3 separate regions of the Homo sapiens genome follow, and regions 1 and 3 are each linked to region 2. Evidence: promoter capture Hi-C in 16 types of primary human blood cells and fetal thymus (Javierre and others, 2016). All regions are on one chromosome and are shown on one strand. The core of a region is centred on a gene start or on the middle of the fragment in contact, and the rest is flanking DNA. Distances in the headings are between cores, read along the strand shown.

Evidence for each region. Contacts are between HindIII fragments. The CHiCAGO score rates a contact against its expected background, and 5 or more counts as called.
Region 1: a contact is called between a fragment that was not itself captured here and the fragment with the promoter of LRMDA in region 2, in 1 of 17 cell types (naive CD8 T cells). The highest score is 5.6, in naive CD8 T cells.
Region 3: a contact is called between a fragment that was not itself captured here and the fragment with the promoter of LRMDA in region 2, in 1 of 17 cell types (total B cells). The highest score is 5.5, in total B cells.

The regions. Positions count from the first base shown.
Region 1 is chr10:77,123,857-77,126,631 of GRCh38, reverse strand. All of the region lies in intron 5 of KCNMA1 (potassium calcium-activated channel subfamily M alpha 1), which reads left to right. Among named protein-coding and RNA genes, the nearest start is that of KCNMA1-AS2, 16 kb to the left of the region's middle. The HindIII fragment of the contact is 1,920 bases long and covers 376-2,295 here.
Region 2 is chr10:75,430,197-75,433,072 of GRCh38, reverse strand. It overlaps LRMDA (leucine rich melanocyte differentiation associated), which reads right to left and starts at 1,449. Exons shown (of 7, transcript NM_001305581.2): 1 at 1,319-1,449. The coding sequence starts at 1,348. It overlaps LOC107984293 (a long non-coding RNA gene), which reads left to right and starts at 1,463. Exons shown (of 2, transcript XR_001747703.2): 1 at 1,463-1,551; 2 at 2,763-2,876. RefSeq lists enhancers at 640-1,140, 1,141-1,641 and a silencer at 1,400-1,499. The HindIII fragment of the contact is 4,872 bases long and covers 1-2,616 here.
Region 3 is chr10:76,955,494-76,958,484 of GRCh38, reverse strand. The region is part of intron 20 of KCNMA1 (potassium calcium-activated channel subfamily M alpha 1); the gene reads left to right. The region is part of intron 2 of KCNMA1-AS1 (KCNMA1 antisense RNA 1); the gene reads right to left. Among named protein-coding and RNA genes, the nearest start is that of KCNMA1-AS1, 69 kb to the right of the region's middle. The HindIII fragment of the contact is 1,782 bases long and covers 438-2,219 here.

The DNA.
Region 1 (2,775 bases), core at 86-2,585, 1.7 Mb before region 2:
CTGAGCCTTTAGCAGGTCACTCTTCAAGAGCCCAGGACAAATAAGGTCCCTGAAGAGGGGATTTGGGCTGTACCCTACAGCATCTGCTATAGCTCATGTCTTTTATTCATTTAATGCAGTCTTGGATATGATACCCTAGTATTTTATTTAGGATTATTGTTGTTAGTCATTAGTGTGATAAGCTTGCCATTTAAGAAAAAATGCAAGGGAACTTGTGTCCAGGTAATGCCAACTTTCTAAACCAATACAGAGCATGGAAAAACACAGATAAGTCCATTTTTAAGAATTGATCATATAATAGAGAATAGATAGAGAAGTTACTATTTTTTGAAACTGTAAAAATCTCACTTGTAAAACTCTCTGAACCTGGAAGCTTTTGGGGAGGGCATGTAATTCCTGGCTTTTGGTATATACACATTTTCTTCTTCACAACTCTATTATAGCTATTTTGTGTTACCTTAGAAAATCATTTATTTCAGAGATTTTATAGAATAAAAATAATAAAAGATATTATAAAATAGAGAAGATGAATAATTGTCACCAAAGAGTTCCCCCTCTCACCTCTCTTATCTTGGTCTCCTCTCTTAGCCTGAAGTCGCTGTCTGTAGTCTTCTGGGCTCTTTCTGGGTATAGCCAGAGTGGTCATTCGTTAAGGCTTTTCCCTGATGAGGCTACTTTCTACTTCCCAAGAGTGCAGCCCTGACCTCTCTCAGGGGACCCCGCAGGGCTTCTGGCTTTTCCCTTTAGTAGGCAACATATAGTCTCAGAATTCTGAATGTGGATTATCTAACCTTTAACTCCGCCGTCTAATTATTTCTCAAAACTTTGATTCACTCATTCAGTTCAAACAAGGATTTATTGAGCCTTCACCTTATGCCAGACACTATGTTCAATGCTGGAAATATAGCCCTGAACAAAACAGACATCAGCTCCTCCCCTCATAGAGCTGATGCTAAAGAGAGGAAGGCAGAAAGTAACCACATAACCGAGGTGCTAGTGCTTCATGCTGAGGAGAAAAGTGAAGCAGGAAAGAGGATAGGGAGTTGCACGGGTGGTGTGGGAGGAGTTGCATGTTTAGGTCGGGTAGCCAGGGAAAGTCACGCTGATCAAGGGACATTGAGTAAGAACCCAAAGGAGGTGAGGGAGTATGCCATGTGGGCATCTGGCAAACAGCATTCCAGGCAGAGAGGCTGCATGTGCAGAGGCCCTGGGGCAGTAGCATACCTGTGTGTTCAAGTGTCACTGAAGACATCTGCCAGATCAGCGGACAGTAGTAGGAGTGACAGTAGGAAGCCATCAGATCCAAAAGGAGATAGTGCTGGTGGTGGGATGGTGTTGCTTTAGGCCTTTGAAAGACTTTGACTTTTACTCTGTGTGGAATGGGTGGCATTGGAGGCTTCTGAGCAGAGAACACAAGGGGTCCAGGGCAGAAAGCGGTTAGGAAGCTGATATGGTTTGGCTGTGTCCCTACCCAAATCTCATCTTGAATTGTAGTTCCCATAATACCCCTATGTTGTAGGAGGGGCCCTGTGGAAGGTAATTGAATCATGGGGGCAGTTACCCCCATGCTGCTGTTCTCGTGATAGTGAGTTCTCACGAAATCTGATGGTTTTATAAGGGGCTTTTCCCTCTTATGCTCAACACTTCTCCTTCCTGCCACCATGTGAAGTAGGATGTGTTTGCTTCCCCTTCTGCCATGACTGTAAGTTTCCTGAGGCTTCTCCAGCCCTGTGGAATTGAGTCAATTAAACCTCTTTCCTTTATAAATTACCCAGTCTCGGGTATGTCTTTATTAGCAGAGTGAGAACGGACTAATACGGAAGCTATTGTGAATGATTCCTGAAAGACCAACCATTTCTCCAGATAGTCTGGCTTGATCTGAGGATGAAATGTAGACTGACTTTTTTAACCTATGGAGAACTTCATTGGCTCATTTGCATTAGTGAAACTCAGTGCCATAAAAATGCCCAGTATGAGGCAGTCAAATAAGCAAAGGCCACCCTTGTTCAGCCCACAGGGGTCTTGCTCCTGCATCACCCTGGGTCCCTTTTGCAAGGAGATATTTCCCTCTGGTCTCCATGTTGGGAAAAATAAATGATTCTCCTGCAAGCCAGTTTGTTTTTCTCTCATATGTATACACTATTGATCTTATCCTGTCTGCCTGCTTGCTTTTGTTAAGAAGGTGCTCAGAGCTAGATCTGCAGTTTGTGTCTAGCAAGAGTATAGGACCTTGTGGCCTCTGCATTCATTTCTTTCCTGCCCTTACTTTCATGCACCTTAATTAAAAGAAAAGCTTTTATTCTACTATATTTGTGTAACTCACTCAAATGTGGCAAGCTGCCAATCAGCAATGGATATACGATACAAACACCATCGTTTAAAGATAAAAAGAAGAAATCCAGTTTGAAGTTCAGGTTGTTTGTATTCTATTTTTAGTTCCATAAATAAAAGCATATCTATGCACACACAGAATGTTCAGGATTAAACACTAAATGGCTAATACATTGCTAGCATGTATTTCTACAGGAGTGCCTCTTATCTATGGTTTTGCTTCCTGAGGTTTCAGTTATCCCCAGGCAACCGTAGTCTGAAAATATTAAATAGGAAATTCTAGAAATAAACAATTCATAATGTTTAAGTTGCATGCTGTCCTGCTTGGTTCCATCTGGGACAAGAATCCTCCCTTTGTCCAGCACATCCGTGCCATCTGCACTCCCTGGCCATTAGTCTCTCAGGGCACTTCAGTGGGCAGACCGATGTCTTGCTGTAACCCAT
Region 2 (2,876 bases), core at 200-2,699:
GCTGAACAAGACCCGTCATTTTTAGCCTCTCCGCAGGCTGTTAACTCACTTCTGAACTCTGGTCTTTCTCCAGCTCTCTCCTCCCAGGCTGTGGGTCAAGGGACAGAGCCAGCATTCCTGAGCAACAAAACTGTTAAATGGGGGGTGCACAGAGACAAAGGAAAGGCTAATTTCCAACAACACCTGGCATGGTGCCTGGCATACAGTAGGCACTCAATAAACATGTGTACCTGATGAAACGACAGGACTCTGGAAAAAAAGAAAACAGGCAGCGGCTAGTTTAATGGGCTGCACAGTTGGCCCTCACTGCATCTGTAGGAGCTGTAAAAACCCCTAGAATCTCCTCTAAGGAGGAATCATTCCCTTCAGCCCAAAGTAATCTCAAAATCCAATTGTGCCTGACACTACCTGCCTTAGGCAATCCAAGAGGAGAGCTTCAAAAACTCAGAACTATTTCTCCAGGGTGTGCAGGGAAAGGTGGGAAGTAAGAGGGCTCTGGCTTCATCAGAGCAGAGAAGAGGTTAAAGACAGAGAACTGGCTTTTCCAGCAGGTAAGAAAGACACCTGGTCCCAGAGTGGCTGGGTTCATCCCTCCAACAATGAACACCTGAGGCTTCACTACAGAGCTCAAAGCATGTGAGACTGGGTGTCTGGCACCCAGGATTGAAACTGGCGTGTTGCCATTCATCACAGACTCCTGTTCAAGAAATCGAGTGTGGAAAGAGAACTGGAGGTCGGTGGCCTTCCATCAGCCTTTGGCTATGGCGTAGCCCATTCAGCGCAGGGCCCACCAGCACCCTCATCTCCAGGGATGTGCTGGGACTTTGGGTACCCTAGACACTTTTGCCTTCATAAACCCCTTCCTCCATTTACAAATAAGTAAATTTGTATATTACAACTGCATTGGTATAAAGATGACTATATCAATGTGATTTATCAAAATGGATTCTTTGACCAAAAGTTTTTAAAATTCAGATTATGAAATTGGAACATTTTCTGTGGGCCCCCAAAAGCAGCGGGGGCCGTCAGCACTGTGTCCGCTGGGCCTGCTCAGTGAGGCGCTAAGGGCAGAAGGAAGTGGGGAGAACGGGAGACCTTGCGGGTGTTCTTCCCGCACATCAAGGGGGTGTGCCAGGCCCGAAACGAGGTCTGTCCTAGCCCCACTAGGGCGAGCCTGAGCACCTGAAGCTCACCCCCTGCAGACGCAGCCCCCTGAGGCGGGGACAGGGGTGTCTAGGCCCTGGGGAGCCTCTGTGCCCCGCTGTCCCTCCCCACGCGGACTGCGCCCCGGGCGGAGGCGGGGCTGGCCGGGACTTACTTGAGTTCCACGCACCACGAGCCCGGCCATGGCGGCCAGGACGCTGCGGGCGCGCGGGACGGAGCGCGGGGGCGCGGCGGCAGCAGCGGGGAGCGCGGCAGGGGAGCGCGGCGGGCGCACAGTTCCGCACTGGGCAGTCAGCTGACCCGGCGGAAGCCGGAGGCGCGGGCTAGCCTCGGGGACCTCAGCTCCGCCGCTCGCCGCCGCCGCCCCTCGGCCCGGTCTCCGCGCAGGTGAGCCCTGGCCGCCCGCTGCAACAGGTGGCCCGCAGCGCCCCGCGCCCCGACGGCGGCCTGACCCCGACTGCCCGCGCCCCTCCCTCCCCCGGATGTCCCAATGCCCAAAACTCCATGCCCACAGCTTTATCGCGTTTGTCTGGGCCACGCCTGAGGTGGGGGTATTCCTATCAGGGGCGCCCTTTCTGAGCCGTTAGCCGGGCTGTAGCCAGCCGGGCCTTTCCTGCATTTCGCAAGCTGGGTTACATAATGGACCTCAACTGCAGCGAGGAGGGGCCTCTTGGCTGAACGCCCCTCCTCATCAAAGCTGGGGAGAGGGAAAGTTAGAAGGTTGAAGGACTCCTGGTGCGGCCCAGTTTCCATTTGTAGGAGGGGAGGGGGATTGGGGGGGTTGAATTTCCCTATAAATAAAACGCTGGCTTGGTGAAGACCACCCCACCCTTTCCCTGTGGCCTCTAAGAGTTGACAATAATAAACCCTGGGGAAGGATAATTGGCTGGTGACCCCAAATTTCAGGCTTCTCTTCTCCTGCTCCTCAGAGGGCAAGAGATTTGTGAGGCTTGAAGTTATCAGTGGGGTTATTCGCTGTTCCCCACCCACCCCATCCCCACCTGGAAGAGCTGGCCACGGGCCTCCTGTCTGGATGAAAGTAGGCCCAGTGGGCAGGTAACTCCCTAAACCCATGCCTGTTTTTCTCTGAAATTCTCTGGAAGGATCCAGATTTTCTCCTTGCCTATTCTTGCCTCCAAGTCCAGGATGCACAGAGCTACCAGATATCAACTGGTTGTCATCTTCCACTCTTGCTGCAGCTAAGAGCCAGCCCAGCCTTAACTGGCATCGTCTCTCAGACAGCCCCGGTCCTAACACATTGTTAGGTGGGCCCTTGTCAGCATTTTGATGAGCAGTGTTGATCTCGGAGGGTTGACCTTCCTGCCCCTCTCTCAGCTGGGAGGAGCAGGCTCAGAAGAGTAGAGCAGTAAGAATGCAGTCTTGACTGTGTTTACTTTGGGGGATTCCAGGAAATGCTGCAACAAAAGGTCCTGCAGGCCAAAAAAGAAAGCTTACCCTCCAGAGATAAGGGGATCAAAGGGAACCTTCCCAGGCCTGTTGCCCCAAGGACCAGCTCCCCCGCCTTCTCCCTCCTTCTCTGCTGGACGCGCCCTCTCTGGTCCATTGTGCACTTTTGTCTGCTTTTCCTGCCTGAAAAGGAGGAAGTGAGCCCGGACCCAGCCAGCACTCTGCCCTCCGCAGCTGCCTTTCAGCTCAGCTTTCCTAGAAGGGCTTTGACAGATGGAAGAGGACTTGTGGAAACAGGCCCAAGC
Region 3 (2,991 bases), core at 79-2,578, 1.5 Mb before region 2:
TTCAGCCCATAAAAATGAAACAGCAGATATATCTCACATCATAGAGTTTCTATTACCCTAAAATAGGGCATGTACATTGGCTAAGTCGCAAGTGACAAGTGAGCCTTGAATTAATTATGGTGCCTTTTAGGGAAATTGAAAATTACTTTGTGAGTGGAAGACTTAGGTAATGTCATTATGATGTGAAAGACAATATCTAATCCTGGTCCTTGATTTCAACTAACTGGTCTTTGAGGAGTTGTGGGAGAGGCTTTGGAAGTGGGTCTCTATCACCTTGCAAACTGAAGATGTTGGGATCCCTTGTTCAGGGAGATTTCTCATGATCCTCCTTTCCATACAACAAACGGCCCAATTCCTCTGGGTCTCCCTGGATCACAGCAGTGTTGATTGGTGTGCTCAATGGCAAATGCTTGGACTTTCTTCTAGCAATAGAAGCTTTAGAAACTTTGATTTAGTCCCTGTGGACAACTGACTGTACACTCTCCACCTGTTCCAGAGATCTCTCTGCAGCACAGGCCAGCCTAAGGCACTTGAAATTACTACAGCAACAGCCATAGTAAAGAAATTTATACTGTCTGGCCAGAAACAGTTACAGACTCTATTGTTGCTGGAACGAATTGTGTTCCCAGCTTACTCCCAGACTGTGAAATCCAGTGAGTGTGTAACAGTGCTGGCCCTTACTGGAGCCATAAATTAATCCCTCTCCCACGCTGCTTACCTCTCATCTTCACTCTAGCAACCTTTCTTTACCTACTCAGGGCTCTCCAGCCTTCTGATATCCAACAATGGTCCAGTACTTTCAAAATTCTTCTAGCTGTGTCTTTCTCCAGTGACAGCACAGTGCTTCAAACCTTCAGGATCTTCTAGGCTCGCCCAACCTTTATATGCATATGCTCACTGTATCCCTTGCTCTTGTGGAATGGCTCAATGATAGAAAACCCACTGTCTTGGGCAACAACTCATTTCATTTTTGAATTACTTTCAATTTTTATAACAATCTTCCTGTTTTGGAACCATGATTTTTGTTCTCTCTTAATCTCATGGATCATTCTTAGTCTGCTGTCAATCAGTCATACTCAATCAGTTTAATCCATCTTCAACTTGACTGTCATTGCACATCTGGAGACAGCTGGAAGGCCTGGTCTGAGTCTTCTGTACCTTAGGTTAGGTGGTATGGTATGGGGCATCTTCAGCCATGGTTTTAGGTGCCATTATTTGGCCCTTTTCATTTGGGCCTCAATTCTCTGGGTGGGTCCTACTGGCTATTAGTGGATCAACACTGCAACATGCTGAGATTCCTCTTCATTTCTCATGGTTCAGATCAAATGCTAATTTTTTTTTTTTTTTTTTTTTTTTTGAGACAGAGTCTCGCTCTGTTGCCCAGGCTGGAATGTAGTGGCGTGATCTCGGCTCACTGCAAGCTCCACCTCCTGGGTTCACCCCATTCTCCTGCCTCAGCCTCCCGAGTAGAGTAGCTGGGACTACAGGCACCCACCACCATGCCTGGCTAATTTTTTTGTATTTTTAATAGAGATGGGGTTTCACCGTGTTAGCCAGGATGGACACGATCTCCTGACCTCATGATCCGCCCACCTTGGCCTCCCAAAGTGCTGGGATTACAGGCCTGAGCCACCACGCCCGGCCCAAATGCTACTTTCTTTGCAAAACCTTCCTTAATGCTACCCAAATACCAGGATATGAACAGCTTTTTTCTTGGTATTCTTGTATCACCTTGTACTTTGCTGTAACACTTGCCACAAGGTACTGTAACTATTGAACTATTGGTGTATATATATTTTTTTCCTGCTATCTTGTGGACCTCTCTTTGACTAGGGACTTTATCTTAATCATTACTGTAGCCTCCATTCCATGCTCAGAATAGGGGATTCTTATTGATTGCTTTACTGATTCAATTGGTTGCTTTACTGATTCAATAAACCAAAGTTAGAATTCCAGGTACCATGCTGGTCAGAGAGGGTAATGTCTTTGTTCCGGGAGGTTTTTGATGTTCCTCAGGTCAGTCTCTTGGGGGAAATCCTGGATTGTTTATATTTAAATGGTCCAGGCCAGGATGAGAGATGTGTGGGGAGTAGAGTGTAGTGTGGCATACCTCTAAGACTTCCTGGATGCCTCTGGATGTTCCATTGCAAACCATGGCTTGAGCTCCAGTGTGAAATTATGCCTGGTTTCTGGAAACCACTACCCCAGTTAATGAAGCTTGACATTAGCTGTCTTTTTTCTTTTTATTGAAGGGCGATCGATCATCAGGCTTGCTTATTTGCTTTTCTGGATGAAAGTTGTAGGCCACTGTTAACAACGTCTGACTCCTTCCCAGAAAGAATCAAGTATACCAAACCAAAATGTATCTCCTCTTCCCCAAGGCACACATTTTCTAAAAGTGTTTTTTGTCAGCTTGCTGTTTCATTTGCTTGCTTGCTGATATTATGGGAACATAGTTCTGAGTATCTTTTAAATCCTAAATGCACTAGGGGCAGGTCTCAGGTCATCCTGAGGTAATACTTTCTCTCCAACCAGTAAACAGGGCAAGAGAATTTGAACCTGGCTCTATATCTTCAGGGCAAGTCTGCTAATATCCTCTTGCAACTGAAATATGTTCTTCATGGGCTGGAAAGAGTTAATTTTGTTCATTTTCTCAAACCTCTTCTCCATGATGGCTTTTGTCTACCTACCTATTCCAGATAATATTAATAGATATCTATGCAACTGTTAAAGACTCTTCAAGGACAAAAACATCCCTCAAAATGTGCTCTCACCCTGATCTGTAAATAGTTCTTATCAGCCTTTTTATCTTAACATCTTTGACTAAGTTCAGTATTTGGAAGATGGCCTGGTGGTTTACATACCTCAAGACCTCTCAACAATCCAGACACTGAGATGCTACTCGGAGTGGGATTGTTCTTCTTTTAAGATCAGATATGACAGATATTCCTATAGTAGTCTAGCATGTTCGTTGAAGATAACTTTGCAAGT